2 separate regions of the Homo sapiens genome follow, and region 1 is linked to region 2. The links are contacts of gene promoters, found by promoter capture Hi-C in human tissues and cell types (Jung and others, 2019). All regions are on one chromosome and are shown on one strand. The core of a region is centred on a gene start or on the middle of the fragment in contact, and the rest is flanking DNA. Distances in the headings are between cores, read along the strand shown.

Region 1 (6,166 bases), core at 3,114-5,613, 71 kb before region 2:
GGACAATGAGTGAAACCCCGTCTCAAAAAAAAAAAGAATGTTAATAACAATACTTCATTAGATAGTTTCTTGTTGAAGCAATTTGTAATTCCCGGAAAGTTGTTAGCCATGCTTCAAGTTTACAAATAGGTGAAGTTTTAAGGTATCTAGAGTTTAAGTAGTTGGATTGGTTTGTCTGGCAAAAGTAAATAGTTGGGATGTAAGGGTAAATTTTTGAAAATTACTCTTAACGTTGTAAGATTTTAGATGCATGCCTTTATGCTTGGTGAGCCTCTGCATTCGAGTATTTAGCCCTGCGCTTATTTTTATTCCCAGGAAGAGAGAAGGGCACAGTTACCTAAGTATCAACGTAATCTTCCTCGGCCAGGACAGGCCCCCATCGGTAATCCACCAGTTGGACCAATTGGAGGTATGATGCCACCACAGCCAGGCATCCCACAGCAACAAGGAATGAGACCCCCAATGCCACCTCATGGTATTCCTCTTTTTATGTTTTTCATATTTAGTGGATTTTCTAAGTTCACGCATAAAATATTAAATTTATCTGCAGCATACGTTGCACTTAAAAGTACAATGCGTTAACAATCTATTTTTTTGTGTTTGAAATTCTTGATTTTAGGTCAGTATGGTGGTCATCATCAAGGCATGCCAGGATACCTTCCTGGTGCTATGCCCCCGTATGGGCAGGGACCGCCAATGGTGCCCCCTTACCAGGGTGGGCCTCCTCGACCTCCGATGGGAATGAGACCTCCTGTAATGTCGCAAGGTGGCCGTTACTGATCTTACTTCATCCAGTCTAATAGGTTTGGAGATTAAACCTTTTCTCAACTTGTGCTGTTTATATAGCCAAGCTTCCGTCAATAAGGCTTCATTGTGACTTTAACAAACATTATCTTCCCACATACCAGGAACTATTGGACATTTATTTTACATGGGAAAAATTATTTGGAATAATAAAGCAGGAACTTTTCCTGAAGTTGCAATTTATACTGTATGGCTTCTTTTTCATGTTTCATCTAGGTTTTTAGAAGTGAAGTATAGTAAATTTGGTTCGTTAAATTGTGAAGGCGCTGGAATTACATGAACATACCACCCTAGTAAAGGCAAGTTCTGTAAGCTTACATTGCTATTTGTAAAGTTTGCCTTCACAGCATTTCAGATGCTGTTGGACTTCATGTCCCCAACCTAGCTTGGTGAGGGCTGTAACTGTTTCCAAGTACTTGTACATTGGAAGTCTGAATGTGTAACAATATTTAATGTATTTAGAGTTCCTCATGTTGCAGGGTTTAAGAAATCTGACCCACCAAGGTCATGTGACTTTTCTGTACTGTTAAACTTCATTGTAATAAAATGAGAGAAAAATTTATGCCTTTTTATTCATAACCCAGCTGTGGACCACTGCCTGAAAGGTTTGTACAGATGCATGCCACAGTAGATGTCCACATAATAAAATTCATAGTTACCAATGCAGTTTTGATATATCATTGGATTCTGTCTTTGAGTTGTAGGTTATTTCTTAGCTGCATGTTTTAAACTGAATTTGCATAGAGTTGTATGTTAATGTTTCAGTTAAGAGAAAAACTTAAGATACATGAGTCATTACATAATGGGTATGAAATCTTTATAATCACCCTTCCACCCTCTATGGTGTCAGTACACATCACGTGTCATAGATACTTAAAATGTAAATGTTAACACTTTTCCTTCCTGCTGAGATGTTTAGAGCCTAGTGCCAGACCCATTCATTTCCTTTTGATTATTTTTGAGACTCAGTACTGCATGGACCTCAGAAGCTTTTCAGGTGCAAACTTCTAGAAGCTTAGGTGCATGCAGTAATAGCTTCTTGTGCTGTTAATGGGTTATTATATATTATTCTAAGTGTAATGCTGAGAATCTAAATGTGTCTCTGTTGGGATGGTTAACAGATGAATTGGCAATTTTTATTATGTTCCTGGAAGATTACATTATTCATTTGAGTACCTTCTGTTATTAAGCCTAGGTAGCCTTACTGTGCAACTTTTTATTTATCCTTGGAAATTTTGAATGTTGTGTTCTTACAGAGAGCTTTTCTGTAGAGATGACTGCTATTCAATATTTTGTGTTGCAACCTCTTAAAATAATAGCTCTTGTTGACCTTTTTGGGATCTGTTTTTCTGATCTTTTGCAGGGTAGTTTTATGATTTTTTAGGCATCAAATAACCTATGCAAAGTATTAATATAATGAACTCAAGTTGAGTTTTTCTCATTATAAAGTTAAGACTTCTAAGAAAATGGTAACATTTCTTTATAACTTTCCTGTGAAGGTATAGATAAAACACATGAAGTCTGAAGTTGTATGGAAAAAAGGGCTTTAACTTTGAAGGAAAATATATTGAAAAGTGATTTAGCCATCACAAAAGAGTTCGTATTTATGTGACAGATGAAAGTCATACCTTTAAGCAAAACATTGCAAGTATTATAAAGCTGAATGCTATTTTAACTCACATTGGCTGGGTGCAGTGGCTCACGCCTGTAATCCCAGCCCTCTGGAAGGCTGAGATGGGAGGATTGCTTGAGTCCAGGAGTTTGAGACCAGCCTGGCCAACATGGCAAAACCCCATCTGTACAAAACATTTAAAAATTAGCCAGGCGCGTTAGTGTGTGTCTGTGGTCCCAGCTGCTCAAGAGGCTGAGGAAGGAGGTTCTTCCTCCTTCCGAGGCTGCGGTGAGCTATGTTCACTCCAGCCTGGGCAACAGAGCGAGACTCTGTCAAAAAATAAATTAAAATATCTGATTATCTGGCTTCAATGATTTTGGCTCCTGTGCTTGTGGTACCATAGTGGTACAAAAATTTTCATAGTTTGAAAATAAAACAGGTATTTTGCCAGTAATGTATTTCTTTCTGCCAGCAGCCAAGTCCCAAACCACTTTCCCCTCTGAACCTCTGCTTACCTAAATGGTTTCAAAATTAATACATGCTGCTTTGATTTGGCAGCACACTTAATATACTGCTGAAGGAAAACTTGTGTTGAAAGTCTTTAAGATAAAAATGGTGTGATAGGCCGGGCGCAGTGGCTCACGCCTGTAATCCCAGCACTTTGGGAGGCCCAGGCGGGTGGATCATGAGGTCAGGAGATGGAGACCATCCTGGCTAACACGGTGAAACCCCGTTTCTACTAAAAATACAAAAAATTAGCTGGGCGTAGTTGCGGATGCCTGTAGTCCCAACTACTCTGGAGACCGAGGCAGGAGAATGGCGTGAACCCGGGAGGCATAGCTTGCAGTGAGCGGAGATCACACCACTGCACTCTAGCCTGGACGACAGATTGAGACTCCGTCTCAAAAAAAAAAAATGCTGTGATTAAATTTAGAATAATTAAGTAAGGGGTGCTCTCCCAAATTCTCAGGAATTTCATGTATACGGTTATTGACAAACTGCAATAGGGTTAGTAGACCTGTTTCAGAAATTATGTGAAGCTTTATTTGCATTTTATGCAAAGAAGGTTGATACTTTGTAGCAAGGTTTTTTGCTCTCTGTATAGGTCTGATGGGCAAAAATGGAACTTTTAAATATGGGATAGAATTCTAATTAAAAATTAATTGAAAGTGTTAGGCATTGGCAGATAAAACTTAAGCTCATGAGTTCCTGAGTTTGTAGCTATAGGCTCAGAGGTGGTGTACCCATTTAATATATTTGAAGTGTAATTTTTGCATGCATCCAAACGTAATTAAGCTTCTAGAAAATACCTTTTTTCTAAATGCTTCTGGGGTCCATAGTGTGGTTGAATTATGAGTGGAGCAAATTATATTCATATAATTAACTCTGACTCAACCTTCCTTAAGTAGTAGATGAAGTTGAGTCAAAGTGGATGCCAACTGCCCTCACAGAAGACAACTTTTGGGACTTGATAATTCAGGCAGGCATTGTGATTGTCATAATTAAGGAAGCTGTAAGGTTAGTAGGGCTGGCAACTTTGGCTCTACCTTACATCCACCCCTTTTAGAAAAACAAGAAAACATTTTGTCTGGCACTAGTTTCTGTTGTATAAGTTTTCATACTGTTTAACAAGACCACAGCAGGTAAGGATTAATTTTTGAGTGGCTGCTGGAATTACTTGATTTGAATACTTAGTATTTTAGTAGTGTCTCACACATTTGCCATTAGGTATGAATAAAATATTCCTACTGTACTCCTATTCCACTAAGTTACATTTTGAACTTAGACTCACCTTAATTAAACTTAATTAATTGGGGAGGGGGATTCCCCAACAAAAAGAAGTACGGGCTCAGAGTGGAATTGTAGTGGACAATAGTTAAAAACAAAGCTGCTCCTTTTGCTTGCTTGATCATTGGGATTTTTAAAAAAAAAAATTTTAATGCATGTCTTTTAAATTAATTGGGAACTGTTTTTCTAAAATTAAAATTTTCTTCTTCCTATAGCCCTGCCATAGGACAGGCTGAGGCTGAGTCTCAGTGTTGCCCTGTTCAGTCTGAGGCAAGTGGGATTTATTTTATTCCTTATAGGGGCTTTCACAGCTTTATGGCTGTTGGATATTTATGTCCCCAAACTTGCAGCAAGTTTGGTGAAGGCCCCTAAATTTAATTAAACTTAGGATTTTTATACTCTTTTGGCAGAGAAGGCTCTATATTAATATTCACGTTTGACTGTGGTGTTAATAAACATAAGTATTTCATATGCAATTTTATGTAATTTGCTGTGTGTTACATAATTAACAGCTTCAGTAAAGCTTGTGTTCCTATATTGAACTTCAATAAATTGACAAAATTTGATATTTTTGATTGGAGGCAAGAAATGTTTCATTCAAGTTTTTTACTTTCACTTCTAGGAAAATCTTACTGGTTTTATTTTCTCCATAAACTATTAAATTTAACCTCAAGGATAAGTTTAATCATTGGAAATGCCACTGGATACTGAAATGTGCCTTCTCTTTTTTGAGACGGAGTTTCACTCTTATCACCCAGGATGGAGTGCAGTGGTGCGATCTCGGTTCACTGCAACCTCTGCCTCCCGGATTCAAGTGATTCTCCTGCCTCAGCCTCCCGAGTAGCTGGGATTATAGGCTCCCGCCACCACATCTGGCTATTTTTTCAATATTTTTCAGTAGGGATGGGGTTTTGCCGTGTTGGCCAGGCTGGTCTCAAACTCCTGACCTCAGGTGATCCACCCATCTCAGCCTCCCAGAGTGCTGGAGTAGCAGGTGTGAGCCACCGCGCCTGGCCAAAATCTGCATTCTTTTTTTTTTTTTTTTTTTTTTTTTGAGACTGTCTCGCTGTGTCACCCAGGCCAGAGTGCAGTAGCACGATCTCAGCTCACTACAACCTCCACCTCCTGGATTCAAGCGATTCTCCTGTCTCAGCCTCCCGAGTAGCTGGGACTACAGGTGCTTGCCACCACACCCGGCTAATTTTTTGTATTTTTAGTAGAGACGGGGTTTCACCGTGTTAGCCAGGATGGTCTCGATCTCCTGACTTTGCGATCCCCCTGCCTCGGCCTCCCAAAGTGCTGGGATTACAGGCGTGGGCCACCGCGCTTGGCCAAAATCTGCATTCTTAATCACAAACTTACGCATTGAATGTTAAGGCTAAAAGGTCATCTGGAAATGCTTAATTTTAAAATATTTTCAAGCCTCACCACATTAGAGCAAATGTTAATGTAGAGCCCTGTAAAGGTGGGAAGGTGGTGTCTATGTGTGTGCTTGTGTATGTGGGGGTATAGACCATATAGTTGATATAACAACAGAATTTGGGTGTTACAGACCTTTCAGCATGGATGGATTACTAATTTTCAGGTATCGAAACTGAAATTTGATACCTGATCCTGTGGTAAAGTATGTTAAACTATGGTTTTGGAGTGATTATTTTGAGGTTCATTTTCAGCCTCACTGAACAGTGTTTTACGCACATGTGAAAAGTATCCACATTTGTTTCCAACTAAAATTTGCTTTTATTTGGTGAGAAAAGTTGTGTGCGTGTGTTTGTTGTAGGGAATAATTAGGGAATTGGAAGAGAGGCCAAAAACAAACCTGAATTACTTTTGTTTCTTGTGTTTGAGCCACGATTCTATCCAGATAGCAGTTTACTCTGAGCAGTAACAATGAACAAGCAGTATAGCATTTAGCAAACCTGGAATTGTTTGTATATGGTTTTCATTCTTGGAAGCATAAAG
Region 2 (6,348 bases), core at 68-2,567:
CGCCCTCCCAAAGTGCTGGGATTACAGGCATGAGCCACCGCGCCTTGCTAGAAGCCATTTAATCCAACTCTCCATCAAAGTCATGAATCCTGTTTACAACAACCTGATGAGATGTCAACTACTTTTCACGTGAACACACCCAGGAATTAGGAAGGCATTCCCTAACCGGCAGCTCTTATCTCTCCCAATCACGATTTGAGCTTCACCAAATAACTCAAACCCCTGTTTCCTCACATATTAAAGGGGAGTAAATATCTGCTTTACAGAACATTGTTGGGAGAATAAAAGGAGATAGAGGAATATAAATGGCCTAATCCACTTACAGAGGAGGGTGTGCAATGTTAGTCCCCTTTTTGCCTCCTTTTATGGGACAGCACATTCCATTTTTGGATCGTCATCACCTAGAGAAAGGTCTTCCTTAATACTGAATTGTCTTTGTATCCTTTTAGCACCTTTCTTAAGTTTAACCCTAAGTGGTCTCATAGAATGTCATTTTTCCGTCCACACGACGTCTTCACTGATATCTGTGACTTTAGTTGAAGGGGCTGAAGATATTGGGAAGAATAATTCAATTTTTTCCTTCCTCCGTCCCTCCCTCCCTCCCTTCCTTCCTTCCTTTTTTTTTTTTTTTCTTTGAGCTGGGGAGCTGGGTGAGGCTTCTGTGGATTCCCAAGAGGTATTTGTGGCGTGAATGGAGCAAAGGTGATGTTTCACTTCATCACGTCCAGCACTGTCCCAAGGTTAAATGGGCGCGTGAGGACAGTTTTCTCCGGTCCTGGCGGGTTTGCCCACCTGCCGGCCAGCGTTCTGCGGGAGTCAAGCCTGGAAAGCGTGTGTGCGGCGCACAGGCGTCAGACACTGGAACGCATTCGAATGGTGCTATTCTTTGCCACATAGCGAGCACTTTATAAGGTCACTTATCGTCCCGAATGAATGGTTAAATCGTGGAAGCCGCAAAGAAAGCCACGCAGCTTTGACTCAATACCTAGCCCAGTACTCAGGAACCCCTCTCAGGGGTGCGCGAGCGGGGCCGGAATCAAGAAGCCTCTTTTGGGGTGGGCGGGGACCGATCTAGAGCTCCCACTGCGGGGCACCGCCTCTTTTCCTCGCCGGCCGCCCGCTAGGAGGCGCTGGGGAGCTTGCAGCCCACCTGCGAGGCGGTCCCGCTCTCCCCACCCCTCAGCCCGCGCCCGGCGGAGAGACTACAACTCCCGGAGTGCTCTGGGAACGGAGCCACGGGAGCTACAGGCGGAGGGACCCGAGGGCGGGCTTTCCGGGTGTGTGTTTCCGGCGTCGGCGGCCGCGGCCGGGGACGGTGTGAGAGCGGTAAGATGGCGGCGGCGGCGGTGGTGGAGTTCCAGAGAGCCCAGTCTCTACTCAGCACCGACCGGGAGGCCTCCATCGACATCCTCCACTCCATCGGTAAAGGTCGCCGCGCCGCCTCCCCGGCCCCGCCGGCCCAGCTCGGCTTATGTCGGTCGGCGGCAGCGGAGAGGGGCCCGGCTAGCCGGCTCTGATGCTGCTGACTCACTGTGTGAGGGGGGCCGGGCCGGGGGCGCAGGCCGCTCGGAGCTCCCCAGAGCCTCCCAGGTCTCACTCTTGTGGGAGGGCTTGAGGCAATCCCCGGGTCCCCTCGCCGGCTGCTGACTCACGGGGGGCTCAGCGTAGGGTGGGAGAGTGGGCCGAGCCGGGCCCCCGGGGATCCCTCCCTAGCCATGTCCCCGGCTCTGGCCCGCACGAGCTGGTCTGGGACCCGGAGCAGTGCCGGCCGGCGTGCTTGTCACGGACTGGTCCTAGAGTCTCTACTTGAAAGGCCTTGGCGAAACCAGCTCTGGACAGGCATTTCCCGCCGTTGTAATCAGCACAGCCTGCTCCGGGTGGGAGCGCGAGCGCTTGCTCTTCTCTGGGAGTTTCCTTCCACGGGACGCTGGGAGCTGCTACTCCTCAGCCCCACGGCAGAAAGCTCCACTAAGAGGAGGGTCTCTTTCAGAATGTGGGAAATTCAGGGGTGACACACACCTCAGATTGGCATTTGGTTTGTGGAGGTGGCCGAGACGCTCATCTGCTCTGTGTAGGGTGTAAGAGTGAGGTGTTGGAGCGGGACCGCCTGGCTAGAGGAGGTGACTAATCTTTCCAGACTGCCTGTAGGGGTTGGAAGTGAGTTAAGGGAGTTAGTTGTCAGCCGCGGAGTTCAGGGAATTCTTTGGAACGGGTCGGCTGCATGTTGCCGGAAAAATTAAAATTTCTTAACGCTGTAATAACGATGGTCTTACACCTACACACAACAGGAAAACTGAAATGGGAATCCCAGCCAGTCGCTTCCGGCAGCTTTCTGTTGGGATTCAAGTGTGAACAGAAATTTATTACGACAGAAGAAGACGTTAATGTTCACTCATAAAGGATTCAATTAGGGCTTGGACTAGCTCTTCACTGCACATGTAATGGCATCTTTGTAGTGTAGTTTGGGAAGATCTGAATTGGCTCAACAAGTAGTATGAGAATGCACCTGTATGTGGGACTTGCAAGATGTTGGCATTTGACTTAGTGTGTTGAATTTTGGTATTCCAGACCTGCACGGAGAAAGGACAATGACAAGATCTTGATACTTTATCATTGGGGATACTAGAGAAGGAGAGGAAGTGGGCGTCAAGGTGTATCTTTGAATGATATTGGTAAAAGGTGTTTCATTTTAAAAGTTCTGATCTTAGGTCAGTTACTTCTACGGAACCAGAGTCATCTCAATCACCGTTACATGGATATTTTATTCTGAGTACACACTATTATTTAGAACTAATGTGAGGAGCATGAATTTTAATAGTCTGTGTCTAGTGTCTAATATTTTTTCTTTCATAAAGTAGAAATTACGTCAAATATTACAATTAGAGTATTTCCTGTTGGCCCACTATTCTAGGGGAGAGTTCCCTGAAAGCTTCACTGTTAGAGCAAGCTTGAGTCATGGTGGTTGACGGCCTTACTTTTTCTGGACTCCATCATGGTTTTTGTCAAGTCATGATGCTTTGTAAGAGTAGTAGTAACTAGTGATGATCACTACAAACTTGGAGAGGCTATTCCATGTTTGAATGTTAAAATAGTTATTAACTGTTGAAAATAGGACAGATAGCACAAAGTTATTTTAACAGACCTCAATGCATTAAAAAGCAGCAGTCTCCCCTAAGTGTAGCTGTGCAGGATCTGGGGCTTTGATAGAGTTGTTTTTCTTGAATGGCTTTATAGACCTGCTTATCCCTAACACACCCATCAGCTGAGGCTTTGCACAGACCTAAAGTTTATTGAAACGCTTTTGACTTACAGGCATCAGTAACTTGGTCAATTGATTTTAGTTTGTGGCATAAACGCACAGGCATGTTTAATATCTTCCCATAAAATAGTGACTGGAACAGATCTTGGCACCATAAGTATGAAGGATTTGTTTTGTTTTAATTTCACTTTAACCAAGTGACCACAACAGAAACTTAGTGTATGTAGGTAAGCAAAATTCTGCTGGGTAGAATGAAAAGGCACATTTAAAATCAAAGAGAAGAATCCTTTTTTTATGATTTACATGGAGCATATTCTACGTATATATGATCTTTTTTTTTTCCTGGCTTAGAGTTTTTTTTTTTTTTTTAACTCTAGAATTTGTCTTTTGGTAAATATGTTTGAGTTTGTAATGGATCTTATGAGGGTGAAATTTCCCTCAGTCTTCATTTTTTGGTCAGAATTTTAAGAGGGTTTGCATTTTCCTCTCCCAGTGAAGCGTGACATTCAGGAAAACGATGAAGAGGCAGTGCAAGTCAAAGAGCAGAGCATCCTGGAACTGGGATCTCTCCTGGCAAAGACTGGACAAGCTGCAGGTAAGTGCTACACATGGATTGTATCTGAAATGCTCAGTGAAATTCCTGTCTTTTGTTGGAGTGAAGAATCATGGGACTGATCCACAAACTGAATTCAGCTTTATTTTCTTGGCAACTTGTTGAGCTTCAGTTTTTTAGCAGGCAATTAAGTGGCCTTTAAACTCACTTCTTTCCTGGTAGTTTAGTTTTGCAAATGAGAGACAATCTTATTTTTGTTGGGATATAGTGATTTCTGATTTGTTTCTGGTTTTTGAATTCTCACTGTATTCCCTTACATAGAGGCAGCAACAGTCTTCAATAATTTCACTGAGCAACTCTGATGTATTTAAGATAGATAACAACTTTAAGCGCCTGATTTAAAAATGACAAAGGATTTTGTATCCAAGTGACTCACTGTCATTTTTTTTTGATAGATTCAGAATGAGAATGAATAAGACATTAAATGGAGCCTTCCCAAGACTTCTGCATTCATACCTAGGACTTTGTGCACATCATTGCTCAAACATTCTAGTTGTAATTGAACCATTGACTGATTAGATTTGACATAATATTCTGATGATGGGTGTGTCCTTGGAATGAGAAGGGAGTCCTTTTGATCAGGAAGGACCTTTTACCAGTAAAGTGGTAATAGTATTTAGAGAGAAGTCTGTTTAAACTTAAATGGGTGATTTTTGTCAAGTTTAAAGTGAATTTAGAGCTTATTTGATTAGATTGGATTAAGATCTGGTAAGTGACCTCATGAATTATTTTCCCTAAAATTATGTTGTTCAAGAGAATGATGGGGGTTAGTTAGCACAACTTCTTCAACTTGAGAACTAAAGATTTTTTTTTTCTTTTTCTTTTTTTTTTTTTGAGACGGGGTCTTGCTGTGTCACCCGGGTTGGAGTGCAGTGGTGCGATCTTGGCTCACTGCAACCTCCGCCTCCTGGGTTCAAGCGATTCTCCTTCCTCAGCCTCCGGAATAGCTGGAATTACAGGCACGCGCCACCAAGCCTGGCTAATTTTTGTATTTTTAATAGAGACGAGGTTTCACTGTGTTGATCAGGCTGGTCTTGAACTCCTGACCTCATGGTCCACCCACCTCGGCCTCCGAAAGTGCTGGGATTCCAGGTGTGAGCCATTGTGCCCGGCCAGTGATTTTTTTCAATTAAAGATAACTAACTTATTAATTATTAGGCTCAGTCTATAGAGCTGAATAAAGATGTATGAAATTGTGAGGATGTGTTTACATGGGCCTTATATCTTACTTAAAACATCATTAAGTAGCTATAAAAAGAACCATCCATAATGGTTTTTGAGTGCTATGAACTTTTTTTTTTTTAATTATTATTATTTTTGAGACAGAGTTTTGCTCTTGTTGCCCAGGCTGGAGTGCAAATGGTGCGATCTCGGCTCACTGCAACCTCTGCCTCCCAGGTTCAAGCGATTCTACTATCTCAGCCTCCCGAGTAGCTGGGATTGCCAGCATGCGCCACTATGCCCGGCTAATTTTGTATTTTTTTTTTTAGTAGAGGCGAGGTTTCACCATGTTGGTCAGGCTGGTCTTGAACTCCTGACCTCAGGTGATCTACCTGCCTTGGCCTCCCAAAATGATGGGATTACAGGTGTGAGCCACTGCACCTGGCCAAGTGGTTACTCTTCTAAACACATACATGGTTTAACTTAATTGAATCCTCGAAACAACTTGAAGTAGGTTTTGTTACCATTTTACACATGAGGATACTGAGCACAGAAAAGTTAAATAACTTAACAAAGCTCATTCAACTAATAACTGGTAGACCTAGGATTTGAGCTCATGTAGTCTTACTTCAGAGCCCATATAGCCACATGACATCATGGTTATTGCTTTCCTATAACTGTCTACTTAAATGAATTATCATTGGTGGGTGGTGTCTTTTCATCTTAGGCTGACTTCCTTCCTATTTAACATACATAAGGATTCCACTTGTCTGTCAGTTAATTTGAGCTTGGGGGGTTCCAAAACAGTTTTGATAATTACTCCATGCAAAATATAATAAGGTAATTTTTCTGAATTATAAAGCCAACTGAAGTGATGTGAAAATTTTTTTTGTTGTTAGCCAGGCGTGATGGCTCATGCCTGTAATCCCAGCACTTTGGTAGGCTGAGGTAGGAGGATCCCTTGAGCCCAGGAATTTGAGACCAGCTCTGGCAACATAATGAGACCCTGTCTCTACAAAAAATAGAAAAATTAGCTGGGTGTGGTGTTATGTGCCTGTAGTCCCAGCTACTCTGGAGGCTGAGGTGGGAGGATTGCTTGAGCCGAGGAGGTTGAGGCTGTAGTGAGCTATGGTCACACTGCCGTGCTCTAGCCTGGGTGACAGAGCAAGACCCTGTCTCAAAAAAAGATTTTTTTGTTGTTGAAATATCCAAATTTCTACTTTCCTCCAGTGGCATGAATTAAGAACAGTGTGTGGTATATAGTCAATACTTAAGTAATTTTCATCCAAAAATGTTACTGTTTTGCTTGAAATTC

Evidence for each region. The method cuts DNA at HindIII sites, captures the fragments that hold promoters and counts their contacts. A contact is called where the count stands out against the background at its distance.
Region 1: a fragment that was not itself captured here is called in contact with the fragment with the promoter of PSMD11 in region 2 in 2 of the 25 tissues and cell types used here (mesendoderm cells and thymus).

The regions. Positions count from the first base shown.
Region 1 is chr17:32,368,980-32,375,145 of GRCh38, forward strand. It overlaps ZNF207 (zinc finger protein 207), which reads left to right. Exons shown (of 12, transcript NM_001098507.2): 11 at 316-475; 12 at 620-6,166. The coding sequence ends at 780. Among named protein-coding and RNA genes, the nearest start is that of ZNF207, 22 kb to the left of the region's middle. The HindIII fragment of the contact is 3,452 bases long and covers 2,638-6,089 here.
Region 2 is chr17:32,443,193-32,449,540 of GRCh38, forward strand. It overlaps PSMD11 (proteasome 26S subunit, non-ATPase 11), which reads left to right and starts at 1,318. Exons shown (of 14, transcript NM_002815.4): 1 at 1,318-1,422; 2 at 3,753-3,854. The coding sequence starts at 1,332. RefSeq lists a silencer at 1,038-1,207 and enhancers at 1,099-1,714, 1,328-1,407. The HindIII fragment of the contact is 9,367 bases long and covers 1-6,348 here.